3 separate regions of the Homo sapiens genome follow, and regions 2 and 3 are each linked to region 1. Evidence: promoter capture Hi-C in human tissues and cell types (Jung and others, 2019). All regions are on one chromosome and are shown on one strand. Each heading gives the region's core, a stretch centred on a gene start or on the middle of the fragment in contact. The rest is flanking DNA. Distances are from core to core; before and after follow the strand shown. Region 1 holds the start of CLCA2 (chloride channel accessory 2). Region 2 overlaps CLCA1 (chloride channel accessory 1). Region 3 overlaps ODF2L (outer dense fiber of sperm tails 2 like).

Region 1 (3,346 bases), core at 357-2,856:
GGATAAAACTAGTTCTTGATCCTCAACCAAACTTTTCAGAAAGTACTCCATAAGTTACAAAATAAAGAGATCTTCTGAGAAACTACTTAGGCTATGGCATTTGACTCATTTTTTACTGCACAATTTGCATTCATTTATTCTCATATATTTTGTTGATAACATTCTGCCCATTAATATTATTTGCATTGTTAATACTGATGATTTGTTTTTACTTAACTTCTCACTTTTATCGTTTGAGCACAGTATATTTTGGTGTTTTTTTTCCCCTTGAGATCATTGAATGAAATCCTGGATTCTTACCTTTTCATATGATTCTTGTTTTATTTTGCTGTTATTATTAGCTTTCCATGTGGCAGGTATTAAAATCTTTATATTTCTGAAAAATACTCTTCTCTTGGTAGCATTAAATAGGTAAAATGAAGCTTCAGTTATCATTTCCTACAGCCAGACAAAAGAAAAACTTACTTTACCACTTGTAAATCCTGTATGTTTTGGTTTTCTGGTATGCTTAAACAGTAATAAAAGACAATGAAATATTTTGAAGAGACCCATTTCTTTTAGAGAAAGCCCTAGACTTTGGGAAAACATAGGAGCAAATTTTTAAAAAAACTTTAAATGATTATATGGAAGATTTTAGGACACTAATTATATGTCTGTGCTTGCCTTCATAGTTTTCCCAATTTTGAGAAAGGCTTTTAAGCTTTTGTGGAACAAATCCTTTTCATGTCACACCTGTGGGCACATTCAAGACCACACCTTATGATGCTACTGATTTCACTAAAGCAATACTAAATGGAGGCTCTTACATCATAGAGCTATGATCCTCCCTTGCCATATTAAAGTAAAAATAGTCAATTATGTTACAGCACATTCAAGTGAAAAGAAATAATTTTGCTTTTTGGCCCACCGTGCAGACTCTCACCCTTTCTGCCTGAGAATTCTCACCCTCAGGATGGAATCTAGCAATATGATTTTAACAAGCATGCTCATTATCATGCTTATTCATCAGTTAAATATTCAATCTTTGTTGCCACAATGGGTTGTTATTTTTCTAAGTTGCTACCCCAAAAACAGTCATGTAGGAAAACAAAAGAGCTGAAATTAGTAGCAACCAACAATAACAAAATAGAGGGCTAGATCAACACTCTGTGAGCTGAGACTACACAGAATTAGATGAACAAACTGGCTTAGTTAGCCATAATCATAACGTTGTGGCGCTATCTTTTAAAAATGCTGTTCTCTGTATTACTCAAATACAAACCAGGCAGGGTAGTTAGCTTCTAAATAAGGCTACAGGTCTGATCAAATGGGATGCTAGTATCAATTTCATAATTTCCACTCACCTTAATGTTTGAGATGAGGTTCTGATTCTCAGGTACCTGAGGATTAATTGCAATGAGCAATCCATTATACCCATTGTCTTGAAGCTGTACTCCAGCTCCCAGGAATGGGAGTTCTGAACTTAAGGCAACCAGGAGAGTCACAAACTTCAGGTTGCAAATAGGACCTGCAATGCTCCTTTGGGTCATGTTGTAGAGAAGCCTCCAGTTCACTCACACTGAGCCTGCTGCATACATTGTGTCAGGTTTTCAATATGGATGCAGATGGTTTCTTCCTGAACTTGCAAGGTTTTAGAACACAAGATGAAGGAGGTGTCTTCTTTGAAAAGTCTGGGGTGGATCCATCTGGGACCTGCCTCTACAAGTCCTTTTCCTCCAGGCAATGCTACACTTGCCTGTTCTGTGGCTGAGCTGCCTCCTGAATCATGGTTGGGCAAGAAACATTCTGCCCTTCATTCATTTTATAACTTTTCAGAAAGAAGAGGGAAATAAGACCAAAGGAGCTTAAAAGCAGGAAATATGGGCTGGAAATCAGTATATCTGGACTGTTCAATCCACTTGCAGTAGAAACACAGAAGTCTATAGTGATTTTCCTCTCCTCATTTTTCATAACCTCCTCCATCAGTTGGCACAAGTACTTTCTACTGCCCTCAAGTCATTTTTCATTTGTTGCAAGATTTCCTTGCCTGTTTATTTTGAAGATTTAGAAATCCATTCTGCAGCCCAGTCCCTACAGCCCTTGGGTCAGATAGTCTGGGCAAGCTCTCAGCTGATGGCTGGAGGTCAGATATCAGATATCCCCCAGAGAGGGCCAACTGCCAGGAACTTGGGTGCCTGTGCAGCCCTTTCCCTCTGGCCTTGCTACCTTTTCTCTCTGCCTCAGGAAGAAGAATAGATTTCTCCTTCAGCTCTCTCCTAAGGGCAAGGCCCTGCTTCAGTCAACCCTCCATTTCTCCAGGACCAAAAACAGGATCTAATATATAGTAACCATCGCAAATATTTTATGACTGATTCATAATACCTGATATTTACCTCATGCTTTAAAGTTTACAAATGAACTCATTTAAATATCAATACTCTGATGCAGGTATAATTTGTACTTTTCAAATGAAAATAATGAGTCTTGGAAATTCTGATTATGAAAATTAGCCAATGAGAGAAGAAACTAACATTTTTTGAGTGATGGATTTTATTATGCCTATTTTATGGGTGACAGAACTAATGTTCAAAAAAATCTAAGTAACTTGTTCAAGGTTGGGAGTATTATCATCGTACTAGAATGAACCAACTGACTCCAAATTCCACTGTTTTTCAATATATCATGTTCTCTCTTAGTTACTAAATTATCTTAGTAACCTCGTTTCTCCCTCTTCTTTGTGTTTAAGAATGCCGCACAGTGACATCTATTGTAAAACTAAAGAAAAAGTTTTATTCACAGCGTCAGAGGTCCACAGCAAGCAAAACCTGTGACTCTTCCCTGCTGTGGCCCCGTCTCGGAACATTTCTGGGGAGGGGAGTGTAGCATTTAGGAAACGGTCTGTCCCTGCTCTCAACAGGGATTTCACCAACATTGTCTGTTTTCAACATCTTCATGGGCAGTGTGATGTCACTCTTCTTCCCAGCAAGGTTGGAGTCTTCTGAACTTGGGCTTTGATATTGCACTGCAATGTTGACAGATGTTGAGGGAATTTTTTTCCCCTTGCTGTCTTGCTTGAATCATTTTCTCATGCTTCTTCTCACCTGCTTTTCCTTCAAATTCCAGCTGTGTCCTGGAAGCCTGGCCTGAGCTCCATAACTAAGTCAAATTCCCTTCTTTCATGCTTCCATAGCATCAGATAACTCACCTTTGCAGTATGATCATGGTAACAATGTCAAATTTATATTGTATAATTGATTGTCAGCTTCCTGCTGTATGAAGGAAGGGATGGAGTCTGTTTTCATTCAGTACTTCCCCAGCACCTATCTCAGTAAACTCTCTGTTGAATGACTGAATGAATGGAGTCAGG
Region 2 (3,346 bases), core at 560-3,059, 50 kb before region 1:
CTTATCAAATGTTAATCAGGCACCTAGTAAGTGCCAAGCCGTTATTCAGACACAAACAGCTGCCCTATCCTCACATAGCTCCTGGTGTAGTGGAGGGCATGTGTGATTAGAAGCTAAAATGCCTGGTGGTACAGGTATGATGACAGAGGTCAGCAAAGGCGGCTATGGGAGCCCAGGCATTCCTACAGCAGCCAGGGCAGCATCCTCAACCAATTCTCCTCCCTCATGGCTCCTATCCCATCAGACCTCAAGGTCTGCTTACTCCATCTCTGTCTTTTTTATTCATTCTCACCTTTCCAGGCCCATTGCCACTTACTCCTGAATTGCTGCAATAGTCACCAGATTGGCCTCCATGTCTCCATCCTTCAGGGTAAGTCCAACTTCTCAACATGGTGTACAAGGTCCCTGATGCCTCAGGCCTGCTCTTCTCTGCAGCCTTATTTCTTGCTGTTCTCCACTCCCTTCCCAAACTCTAGAATTAGGATGAATTCCTGAACTCCTTTTTTTCCTAGGTCATATCATGCTCTTGTTCAACTCTGGTCTTTTTTTACCTATGTTTCCTTAGCTTGGAATACTTCCTTCCCATCTTTGTCTGGATAACTCTTATTCTTCTTTGAAAATCAAGCTTCTATGTGCCTAGAAGCCTGCCCTGAAATCCTCATCTTAGGCCCAGTACTCCGCGTTTGCATTTCACCATCTCCCATTAGGCACTTACAATGATAAACAGTCATTGCTACTTACTTGCCAGTCTCCCACAATAGAAAATTGTCTCCATGAGGACAGACAATATGACTTCTTCACTGTCATATCTGGGCACATAGTGTCTAGAACTTAGCAGGCATTCAGTGATATTTGTTAAACTTGAGTGAATGACTTATGTACAGCTCAGTTTTTCTGGAATGTAAATTCCAAGGAAGGCTGAATTTGGAGGGTTATGTGAGGTGGGGCATTCTGTGGAAACTCAGTATCCCACACTAAGGATTGGGACTTTATTCTGTAGGTATTGGTGGTCTCTTTAAAGATGATTGTGAGAGAGTTGGAGTGGAGTCACAATACAGAAAGGAAACACTATTAAGGAATGGTTTTATATATGATCATGATGGCTGGAGTGGGCTCAGGAGTGGGATGAGGCAGTCAGGTCAATCAATTCAACACTTATTTGTTGAGTCATACATTGAGAATGTTCTGTTCCTGTTATGGAGGTGAAATGTGTTGTAGAACAACAAAGAGGTACGCTTGACACATCCTTTTGACCAGGTCTTTAAGCGCTCTAGTGTGTTTGGGGATGGGGCTTGGATAGCGTTCTTTTGTTTGCTTGTTTTCTGTGCCTTATATGTTAAAAAAAATCAAGCTGGTTCTAGGGGATCCAAATCTTTTTTGAGGTAAAGAAATCTAATGCTAGTTATTTAGTAAAGAGTCACATTTGATTCTTGGAAAGTACATTTTATATATATGTCATTACTTGTTTAATATTTCCTCCAATAATTGTTATATGTACCTCATATACAAATGATAAAGTTTATTTATCATTGGAGTTTTTTCTTTAGTTACATGTTTTTGAGAGATGAATTGCAAAGGTATTCTGTCTGCTACTCAAAGTGTGATCCACAGACCGGTAGAATCAACATCTCCTGTGAGCTTGTTAAAAATGCAGATTCTTGAGTCCCATCCCACACCTAATGAATGAGAATCCCCCCCCTTTTTTTTTTTTTGATACGGAGTCTCGCTCTGTCGCCCAGGCTGGAGTGCAGTGGCGCGATCTTGGCTCACTACAACCTCCGCCTCCCGGGTTCACGCCATTCTCCTGCCTCAGCCTCCCAAATAGCTGGGACTACAGGCGTCCGCCACCACGCCCGGCTAATTTTTTGTATTTTTAGTAGAGACGGGGTTTCACTGTGTTAGCCAGGATGGTCTTGATCTCCTGACCTCGTGATCCGCCCGCCTCGGCCTCCTAAAGGAGAATCCACATTTTAACAAGATTCATATATAATTTGAATGCACGTCTGAGAGCACTGCACATATACGCCATCTGGTGGCTATTGTATGAATTGCAGGTAGAAGATTTAATTCCGTTGTCTCCTTACATATCCATAGAAACTTAATACAAATTAAATTCTTTTACAGTTATAGTATGATGCTATAATAATAATTTACGAGAATTCAAAATACCGTATTTATACATGTATCTAAAGTAAATTAAATTCATAGCTGAGAAATGCTGGAAATTCTAAGTGAAATGCATGTTCTATTTTAAGTGAAAAATGCTATGATGTTTTATCTCTAATTGTTTGGCTTATACATGCTTACTCACAAAGATAATGCTAGTGTTGATACACTTTGAACATAAAATAGTTAAATTGTATGAGAAGTATGGTAGAATATTTCATACCTTGTGGTCCATATTCAGCTAACTTTTTTCCTGCAATGAAATCAGGAGTGAGGTGGATCCTTTCACCCTTCTCTCCACAGTTGCCCATCTGCTCAGTGTAGGGTTCATCATTACCTGGAGGAGTAGACTCAGCAACCAGAACATCAGCCTGAAATTTAAGAAAAAGTTTCTATCATCACAAAGTTTCAGCAAATGAATTAACCATATTCGTACTGGAGTAAGTTTCAAACAATCACATTTGATTCTAGAATATTTTGATTTTAAAAAATCTTGGTTACAGGAGAAAGTGGAATTTTAAAGAAGAACTTGATATTCTCACATTTTTGTAGGTCTCAAGTTTTGGTCTCACATAGTCAGCCTTTGTCTTCCATGTTTCAGGAATCAAAATGGCAACATTTTTGAAATAAAATCGCTTTCCTGTAGCTTCAAGCAGATACAGAGATGCCTGGGTCACCATGTCCTGGGAAGAAAAAGAAAACATACGTAACAATTGACTGAAAATAAATTAAATTATCAGTCATTCAAATTCACATCTGGATTTCACATTTTCAAAAACTTGTTATTTGTTAAGATGGGAAGAAGAAATATAGAAATACCTTTTAATAATAATAGCTAAGCTTTGAGAGCATTTACCAAATATTCTGTGTCACCGAGTAATCAGTAACAATGCAGACTCTGGAGACAGACTCTAATCCTGGCTGCACCACTTTTTGTGGGACATTCGGCAATTTCTAATTCTGAGCCTCAGTTTTCCCATTAACAAAATGGAATATTATATTATAGTGACTGGCTGATAAGGTTGTGGTGAGGAACAAAGTGAAACATATGATGTGCTAGGAACAGTGTTTACTTCGCACAAGCAAGTATAAAATATTAGCTATGCGTTTCACTTGCTTCTTTGAGAATCCACAAATCTTTGAGGGTGAAACTGAGACTTAGTATAATTCTCAAGGTCTC
Region 3 (3,346 bases), core at 408-2,907, 48 kb after region 1:
AAAATGCTGATAGTGATATGGACAATGAAGTCCTGGCTGAGGTGGTCTCAGATAGAGATGAGGAACTTCTTGGGAACTGGAATAAAGGTGACTCTTGCTATGCTTTAGCAAAGAGACTGACGGTATTTTGCCACTGCCCTAGAGATCTGTGAACTTTGAACTTGAGAGAGATGATTTAGGGTATCTGGTAGAAGAAATTTCTAATCAGAAAAACATTCAAGATATGACCTGGTTGATTCTGAAAGCTTTCAGTTTTATGCATTCACAGAGAGAAGGTTTGAAATTGGAACATACATTTAAAAGGGAAACAGAGCATAAAAGTTTGGAAAATTTGCAGCCTGCCCATGCAATAGAAAAGAAACACCCATTTTCTGGGGAGAAATTCAAGTGGTCTGCATAAATTGGCATAAATAATGAGAAGCCGAATATTAATGGGGAAAATGTTTCTGGGGTATGTCAGAGGTCTTCATGGCAGTCCCTCCCATCACTGGCCCAGAGGCCTAGGAGGAAAAAGTGGTTTTGTGGGCTGGGCCCAGAGCCTTGCTGCTTTGTACAGTCTTGGGACTTGGTGCCCTGCATTCTAGTTGTGGCTAAAAGGGGCCAATGCATAGCTCAGGCCATTTCTTCAGAGGGTGGATGCCCCAAGCCTTGGCAACTTCCATGTGGTGTTGGGCCTGTGGGTGCACACAAGTCAAGAATTGAGGCTTGGGAACCTCTGCCTAGATTTCAGGGGATGTGTGGAAGTGCCTGGATGTCCAGGCAGAAGTTTGCTGCGGGGGTGGAGCCCTTATGGGGAACCTCTGCTGGGGCAGTGTGGAAGAGAAATATGGGGTTGGAGACCCCACATAGAGTCCCATTGGAGCACTGCCTAGTGGAGCTGTGAGAAGAGGGCCACAAGTCCTCCAGACCCCAGAATGGTAGATGCATTGACAGCTTGCACCATGTGCCTGGAAGAGCCACAGATACTCAGTGCCAGCCTGGGAAAGCAGCTAGGAAGGGGGCTGTACCCTGCAGGCCATAAGGCTGGAGCTGCCAAAGACCGTGGGAGCCCACTCCTTGCATCAGCATGACCTAGATGTGAAACATGGAGTCAAGGGAGATTATTTAGGAGATTTAAGATTTAATGACTGCCCTGCTGGATTTTGGACTTGCATGGGTCCTGTAGCCCCCTTTTTTTTGGCCAATTTATTTCATTTGGAATGGGAACATTTACCTAATACCTGTGCCCCCATTGTTTCTTGGAAGTAATTAACTTGCTTTTTATTTTACTGGCTCCTAGGCAGAAGGGACTTGCCTTGTCTCAGATGAAACTTTAGACTTGGGCTTTTGGGTTAATGCTGGAATGAAGTAAGACTTTGGAGGACTGTTGGAAAGGCATGATTGTGTTTTGAAATGTGAAGACATGAGATTTAGGAGGGGCAAGGGGCAGAATGCTATGGTTTGGCTCTGCCCCACCCAAATCTCATTTTGAATTGTAATCCTTATAATCTCCACATGTCTAGGGAGAGACCTGGTGGGAGGTGATTGGATCATGGGGGTGGTTTTCCCCATGCTGTTCTCATGATAATGAGTGAGTTCTCGTGAGACCTGATGGTTTTATAAGGGGCTCTTCCCCCTTTGCTCCTCACTCTTCTGTCTCCTGTCGCCATGTGAAGAAGGTCCTTTCTTCCTCTGCCTTCTACAATGATTGTAAGTTTCCTGAGATCTTCCCAGCCGTGTGGAACTGTGAGTCAATTAAACTTCTTTCCTTTATAAATTACTCAGTCTAGGGTATTTCTTTATGGCAGTGTGAGAATGGAGTAATACACAAACCATATCAGTTATGTACATATTTTTACAATGTTTACATAAACATTGGAGTTCTGAAATAATTTAATTGTTGCTAATTTTTTTTTTAGAGCTTAGAAACCAAGATAGCCAAGTGGAACCTGCAATCAAGAATGAATAAGAATGAGGCTATAGTGATGAAAGAAGCAAGTAGGCAAAAAACTGTAGCTTTAAAAAAGGCATCTAAAGTTTACAAACAAAGGCTTGACCATTTTACAGGAGCTATTGAAAAGCTTACTTCCCAAATTAGAGATCAGGTATGTAAATGCATTCTTTTTAAAATTAAAAGATCTATTATGTACGTAGTTTATATAATTAATATCATGATGCTTAATATAGTAATTTTATTCTTTTCTTAATGCTGTTAATACCAGAAAAAACTTACACTTTTTGCTTTAATCTTTTACTTTGAAATATTACATAAAATGTCAAATTTTCATATTGAAATATATCAGCATTTCCTTGGGAACTTTACTTAAAGGAAATATTAAGTGTGTCCCCCCCGCCTCCACACACAAAAAAAGGTTCTATTGGCCAACTAACTAAGGGTAATACTTCATACATATTTCCCCTTGGGACATTGTGGTCTATGTTAGCAAATTAAAGGTTCTGAGAAGGCTTTCAGAAACAGTGGAATGAAGGGTATTGAACTAAGAGTTTCCCACACTTTTTTAACCACAGAGCTAGTCTTTTATGCACAAAGCAACTCTTGGAACTGGTTCTGAGGAACACTAGTTTGAGAAATGCTGATTTATGTTATTAGACCCTATGACTTTATTCAGTAATTAACCTAATTTAATCTCTGTAATACATTTAAAACCATGTGCTGACATAAACACACCAAGTAAAATATATCTTTGGTATAGTACAAATTTGAAAATGGCCTTAGTGCTTTGTTGTTTTTGATAAATTATTATATTTATTCAATTACTAATTAATAATTTTTTTAAAAAAGTCTCACTGATATCCTGCCTCTTAAGAACTTATGTTAAGGCTTATAGAATTATTAGAGGCTTTTAGAAATGAAAACAGACTTGTATAAAAAGTTTATGGCAAACAAAGTAGTATTTTGTTAACCTTGTGACTTGGGATAAGGAACTTAACCTCTTCAATTTCCTCATGTATAAAATAGGGCATCATAATACTCCCTATCTCATGTGTTTGTAGGGAGAGATAAATGAGAAAATATATTTTTGCATTGTCCTCCTTTCTGTTGCTGTAATGCATGAAGTTTTTTTCTTTGTTTTGTTGTTTTTCTTGTTTGTTGTTGCATCTGGCTTTAATATTCTTCCCTGGCTCACAATAGCTCTTTCTTTTTTTAATCATTCAGGTATCTTTTCAATTGACATCTCTTCAGAGAGGCCTTTCTTGACCATTTCTTTTGAAGTAGTTCTAAAACAATCATATCAATGTCTTAATTTTTTTCATAGCATTCACTATAATCTGAAACTATATCATTTATTTTTTCATTTATCACTGCTGTTGTGTTTTGTTTTATTTTTAACTGTTTCCTTCTACT

What was found. Contacts are between HindIII fragments. The study calls those that stand out against the background at their distance.
Region 2: a contact is called between a fragment that was not itself captured here and the fragment with the promoter of CLCA2 in region 1, in 2 of the 25 tissues and cell types used here (lymphoblastoid cells and spleen).
Region 3: a contact is called between a fragment that was not itself captured here and the fragment with the promoter of CLCA2 in region 1, in 1 of the 25 tissues and cell types used here (mesenchymal stem cells).

Annotation. Positions count from the first base shown.
Region 1 is chr1:86,422,431-86,425,776 of GRCh38, reverse strand. It overlaps CLCA2 (chloride channel accessory 2), which reads right to left and starts at 1,606. Exons shown (of 14, transcript NM_006536.7): 1 at 1,344-1,606; 2 at 301-438. The coding sequence starts at 1,529. The HindIII fragment of the contact is 8,393 bases long and covers 1-3,346 here.
Region 2 is chr1:86,472,920-86,476,265 of GRCh38, reverse strand. CLCA1 (chloride channel accessory 1) reads right to left here. Exons shown (of 14, transcript NM_001285.4): 2 at 2,709-2,849; 3 at 2,390-2,537. It overlaps LOC124904210 (a long non-coding RNA gene), which reads left to right. Exons shown (of 3, transcript XR_007066206.1): 3 at 301-370. Among named protein-coding and RNA genes, the nearest start is that of CLCA1, 5.7 kb to the right of the region's middle. The HindIII fragment of the contact is 5,369 bases long and covers 1-3,346 here.
Region 3 is chr1:86,374,971-86,378,316 of GRCh38, reverse strand. ODF2L (outer dense fiber of sperm tails 2 like) reads left to right here. Exons shown (of 17, transcript NM_001366781.1): 8 at 1,899-2,084. Among named protein-coding and RNA genes, the nearest start is that of MIR7856, 19 kb to the right of the region's middle. The HindIII fragment of the contact is 4,978 bases long and covers 1-3,346 here.